Linked DNA regions of Homo sapiens: region 1 is linked to region 2. The links are contacts of gene promoters, found by promoter capture Hi-C in human tissues and cell types (Jung and others, 2019). All regions are on one chromosome and are shown on one strand. The core of a region is centred on a gene start or on the middle of the fragment in contact, and the rest is flanking DNA. Distances in the headings are between cores, read along the strand shown. Region 1 overlaps EFCAB6 (EF-hand calcium binding domain 6). Region 2 holds the start of SULT4A1 (sulfotransferase family 4A member 1).

Region 1 (2,923 bases), core at 326-2,825, 230 kb before region 2:
AGGCTGATGTCTAACTCTGCCCGAGGGGGCCTCCTGGGGTGCAGGCCCATCTGTTTCTTGATGATTCCCTCTATACTCTCAGCCCCAAGCCGCCACCCCCCTGACCCACAGCCTCACATCTCCAGTGGTCTGGGGGCATTTTCTCTGGGATGTCAAACTGAACATGGCCCAAATCAAACTCCTGACCTCCACCCCCTGTCCCCACCCTACTCCTCCTAAGTCTTCCCATCTCAGTAAGTGGAGCTCTTTCCTCCTGGTTGCTCAGACACAAACCTGGGAGCCCTTCTGAGCCCTCGCTTCCTCTCACACCCACATCCAGTCTGCCCACACATCCCGCTGGCTCTCCCTTCAGAGTGCATTAGCACTGGACCCCCTCTCCCAGGCACACCACCTCGGCCCCCACCCAAGGTCGCTGGAGTCCTGCAGGAACCTCGTGATGGCTCCCAGCTGCCATCGTCGGCTCCGTGGCCTCTGCTCTGTGCAATCGCTCCCGAGCGATCCCTTACAGCTGACGTCATGCATGAGGCGCCTCTGCTCAACCCCCTTGACTCTCCTTCTCACTCAGAGTCCAAGGCCAAGGCCTGGCCGTGGCCCACAAGCCTGTCTACACCCCCATCCCACCCGTCCCCTCACTGTTCTCTGAACAGGCCGAGCCTGCTTCAGGGTATCGCAGGGAGCCCTCTCCAGTGTCCGCAGGGCTCACTCTGGCTCCTTCATGACTGTGTCTGAGTGTCCCCTCTCCAGAGAGGCACTTCCTGACTCCTCTGTACAATGGCACCAGCCCTGACTGGCCTCCCACGATCCTCTACTTTTCTCTTTGGCACATGTCACCACCTGATCTAGTAGAGGTTTCTGTGTCCACTGCACTTCCCCCTAGAACATAAGCATGAGTCTGGGCTCTGATCTGTTCCCTGTTGCAGCTCCAGCTCTCCGAGCCATGCTCACCATAACGTCTGTGAGATGGGGCTGCTGGACATGAAGGAGCAGCATTTCCTAGGCACAAAGCACTCTGCTGGGTACACAGACACCATAACTGCAACGTGGGCCCTGACACCCAGGTCCTCACTGTCTATCTACTAGGGAAGCAAGACAGGAAGCAAATCATGGCAATCCAGCGTGATTACTGCAGGGACAGAGGTGTGAGGGCCAGGTGGGGCCAGCCTGGATTCTGGACTCCAGGGACAAGCTAGATGCTATGAGATCATACATGGCTAATCTTCACAAGTTTATAAACTAATCATTCCTCAAATCTCAGTCTTCAGCTTCCCCAATGTTAGTGCGTAGTACAGAGGCTTTGGAATCGAGCCGGTGTTATTTCAGTTCCTGACGGTGCCATGTACTAGAGGTGTGGCTTTGTGTCACTTTTTCCCCGTCTCTGACCCTCAGGGTATCCAGCATAACACGGGAACATTAAACCTACTTGACAGGGTGGTTGCGGGTGTCAGAACACACAAGGCCCTGTGTGTGGCCCTCCAGTTCGCTGCCCAGCATCAGGTGTGGTGTGTTCAATCAGCAAATACAAATCGGTCATGTGCATTGTGGCAGGCACTGTGGCAGCCCCTTGGGTTACTGTGGTGAATGATGTAGAAATGGCTCGGGGCTCACTGTTGAATCTAACTGCAGCACCCTGCGGGCTGTGTGCTATGAGGGACGTGAGGAGAGAGGGGAATGTGCAGTGGCAACCTCTCAGCTGATGTGAAGGGCTTGAGAAGGACAGAAGCTTGGGGAGGAGTCCACTGGTCAAAGGGGAGGCGCCATCCAAGCAAAGGAACAGAATGTGCAAACGCTTAGAGGCAGGAAAGGGTGAGGGGGTGAGGGGTCTTGTGGGCCGGCCAGGCGGGAGCAGGATGTATCCTGAGAGCACAGTGGGCACTCCGGTCAGAGATGCACATGGATGAGACAATCCTGCGAGGGCCAGGAGTCCAAGACGAATTGTGAAGTGCAAAGTGAAGTTGCAGAGAACTGAGTGTACTGTGACCCTATTTGTGGGTTGACAGGTTAATCCTATTTGTTTCTAAAAGATATATGAGGCCAGGGACAGTGGCTCATGCCTGTAATCCCAGCACTTTGGGAGGCTGAGGTCGGAGGATCGCTTGAGCCCAGGAGTCTGAGACCAGCCTGGGCAACGTAGCAAGACTTCGTCTCTACCAAAAAAATTCAAAAAAAGTGACTGTACCATCCCATTAAAAAATTGAGACCCGTGCTTTGTCCACTTTGCGTATACCTGCAAGGACACAAGCCAAGTCCTCACGAGCCCCGGACATAACCCGCATCCAGTCTGTCTCACATAAAAACTGGCAATTAGGGGTTCACTCCTCTGTTTCACCCACTAGTTGATAAATTCTCTGGCGGGATAGAGTGGGTGTCGGTGATGGTCTGTTGAATGAATTCATTATTTAAAATAGAGATCTCTTTGGAAAACACAGGATATACGTTGGCTGTAGCCAAGCTTCACTGATCGTAAAGATAGGAAAGCAACGATGTAGCGTGGAGCTGGGCTTCCCACGGCCTCCACTGGGAGACGCGAGGAGTGTGTGAGGAAGAGAGGAGAGAGTCTGAGAGAGGGAACAGGGAGGGGCCTGCATTGCAATGGGCAAGGTGCAGTGAGGCAGCTGCCAGGCCTCTACAGTTAGGGTGCCCGTGGAGGCCCTGCCGACCAGCACAGAAGGGAGTCTGCTCCTGGAGCCTTTGCCTCCGTTCTGCTCTCTCTCCCTGCAGCGGCCGCTGCCTCCCACCCAGCTCGGCTCTCCTTTGGAGGACCAGGCACTCCCCACTTAAATGACCCCTGCCTCCTCCACGCTGGAGCCCACAGGCCAGTGGTTCCCAGAGTGCTCCTCTTGGCTGGCCACTTAGCCTGGATGAGATCATTAGGACCAATCCGTCTCCATGTATGCATATGGCGATCATATTTTTTCAAACCAAA
Region 2 (2,873 bases), core at 52-2,551:
GTGTCTGGAACTCCATACAGCTACAACAGCCAAGCCTACAGCTTTTCCTGAAACTGCCCGACTGCTGGTCCGGCGTGACCTTAGAGCCAGACACCTTCTAAACCACGCTGTGATTGCCTCAAATACAGTGGCAACAAGGAAATCCCAGGGCATGTTTACAGAACAGGAAAGCTGCTACCTCCTTTCCCTAAAAACCTCAGATGGGGTACTATACAATCTCCTACCTCAGGTCTGGAAACAGACCAGCCTAGCTTTAATTCCCAGGTCAGCCACTCACCAGCTGAGTGACCTTGGACCAGCCTCTTCCCCTCTCTGAGCCTCTGTGCCTAGACTGTAAAGTGGGAATGACCACCACTAGCTCACACAGCTGTTATTGTGAAAGTGACGTCAGCTAATGCTGGGAAATGTGAATGCCCCAGGTCCTGCCTCGGTGATGGAGGCAGCCCTGAAACAAGAGAATGTACAAGCAAGGCACTCCAGGCGGGGACTGGTCCCATCCCCCACCCGGAGCCCAGGCTGGAAAGGAGGGACGTTACGTTTCCACGCTGAAAGCCCTGACGCCCATGTTATCTCCCTTCCCAGGTGAACACCAGGACTTTGCACTCATCAAAGGTTGGGCAGGATTCAGGAACAGAGAGGTTGAGTGACCTGTCCAAGGTCACACAGCCAGCCAGGTAAAGGGAGAAGCAGGGATGGGTGGCGGCCCTGGGCCCATCCTCCTGCAGCGCCGGCCAAATAGGCTCCATCTCCACGGAAGGGGCCGCTCCCGAAGGTCTCTGACCTTGGTTTCCCCAGATGAGAACCAAGCCCCTTCCCACCCCCACCCCACCCCACCCCGCCCCGCAGGGATCCGAGCATCGGGAGAGCGGTGGGCACGGCAGGGGCGGAGGCCAAGGGCGACCACCCGGCCCAGCAGAAGCCCCGGGCGCGGGCGCGGCGTCTACGCGGCCGCGCTGCAGGGCTGGGGCATGGCGTGGCGGGCGCGGTCGGCGCGGGGCTCACCGGACTTGGGGTAGGTGACGATCCACACGTCGCTGGGCCGCACCGGGAAGTTGGCGATCTCCTCCATCTTCCCGCGGCAGAAGGGCGGCAGCCGCACGCCATGGAACTCGAAGTACTTGCTCTCGAACTCCCCCGGGGTGCTGGGGGTCTCGGCCTCGCTCTCCGCCATGCCGCCGCCGTCGCCGTCGCCGCCGCCGCCTCCCGGCTCGCAGCCCGCACGCGCCCGCGCCCGCGCCCGCGCCCGCGCCCCGCACACGCTCGCGCCCCACCGGCGCGCGGCGGCAGCTCCGCAGGCGTGACGTCATGGCGCCGCCGACGCGCGGCGGAGGCTCCGCGGGTATGACGTCATGGCGCCGCCCGGCACGCGGCCGCGGCGCTGCACGGGCGTGACGTCATGGCGCCGCGGAGCCGCGTCCTCCCCGCCCCGCCCCCGGCCGGGGTCACCCACCCGCTGCCGGGGCTGACAGAGACCCTGGCCCGCGGTCTGCAGCCTCCTCAGTCGTGCGTGCGTTCATTCCGCTCATAGCTTCTGTCACTCAGCAAGCGCTCAACACAGACGCATGAGATACCCTGGCTGGAAGGCCCTGAAAGGTAGTCGTCCATTCAACACGTGCTTAGCGCGCTGCTGATCTGTGCCAGGCACTGGGCCAGGGCCCCGACACGCGTCAGGGTAGAAGCAAGCAGAAGCCTGGCCCTGTTGGAGCTTACATTGGTAAATAACCAAGATAATTTCAGGTAAATATTAGGTCCTATTAAAAATATGCGTCTTCGCCAGGCGCGGTGGATCACGCCTGTAATCTCAGCACTTTGAGAGGTCGAGCACGGGCGGATCTCCTGAGGTCAAGAGTTCGAGACCAACCTGGGTAAATGGTGAAACCGCATCTCTACAAACATACAAAAAAAAAAATTAGCAGTGAGCTGTGAGCTTGCACCACTGCACTCCAGTCTGGGCAACAGGACGAGATCTTCTAACAACAACAAAAAAAAAGTATGGGCCACCTAGTCCAGCCAAAAAAACAAAGTGCTTTTTTTTTGCTTTTTTTTTTTTTTTTTTTTTTTTGAGATGGAGTCTCGCTGTGTCGCCCAGGCTGGAGTGCAGGGGCGCGATCTCAGCTCACTGCAAGCTCCACCTCCCGGGTTTACGCCATTCTCCTGGCTCAGCCTCCCGAGTAGCTGGGACTACAGGCACATGCCACCATGCCTGGCTAATTTTTTGTATTTTTTGTTTGTTTGTTTTAGTAGAGACGGGGTTTCATCGTGTTAGCCAGGATGGTCTCAATCTCCTGACCTCGTGATCTGCCCACCTTGGCCTCCCAAAGTGCTGGGATTACAGGTGTGAACCACCTCGCCCAGCCAAAAAGTGCTTCTTAATATCCCATGAGTAGGGGAGGGGAGTGTTGGATTGCAAATTCCAGGACCCCAGATCTATGGAGAAAAATTACAAAAATATACATTTAGTAAGGCACTTCTTGTGCAAACTATAATTTGAGAGCAACCGAGTTCTAGAGATCTCAGTGCAACCCCTTGCCAGTCATGCACTCAACAGACATATATGAAGCACCTACTAACATGCCTGGGGAAGCACAAAGATGAAAACAACACAGCCTGCTCTCATTCTCTGCAGCCGAGCATCATCAGCTGTGTAAAGGAAAAGAATGATTCCTACCTCTAAGTAGTGTAGCCAGGAAGATGGAAGGAGTTTACACCAACAAGAATCTGGAGCAGAGTGGCTGGACGGGACCTATTCCTACTCTCTCCTTCTTACTGTAGAGTGAGACACGTGCATTCTGACACCAAAGACATACACATGGGCTGAGAAGCGCAGGCCATGTGTACATAGCAGACAGAGAGAGGAAACAGCAATTAATCCT

What was found. Contacts are between HindIII fragments. The study calls those that stand out against the background at their distance.
Region 1: a fragment that was not itself captured here is called in contact with the fragment with the promoter of SULT4A1 in region 2 in 2 of the 25 tissues and cell types used here (dorsolateral prefrontal cortex and liver).

Annotation. Positions count from the first base shown.
Region 1 is chr22:43,627,988-43,630,910 of GRCh38, forward strand. All of the region lies in intron 19 of EFCAB6 (EF-hand calcium binding domain 6), which reads right to left. Among named protein-coding and RNA genes, the nearest start is that of EFCAB6-AS1, 110 kb to the left of the region's middle. The HindIII fragment of the contact is 3,448 bases long and covers 1-2,923 here.
Region 2 is chr22:43,861,212-43,864,084 of GRCh38, forward strand. SULT4A1 (sulfotransferase family 4A member 1) reads right to left here and starts at 1,302. Exons shown (of 7, transcript NM_014351.4): 1 at 1,003-1,302. The coding sequence starts at 1,171. The HindIII fragment of the contact is 9,350 bases long and covers 1-2,873 here.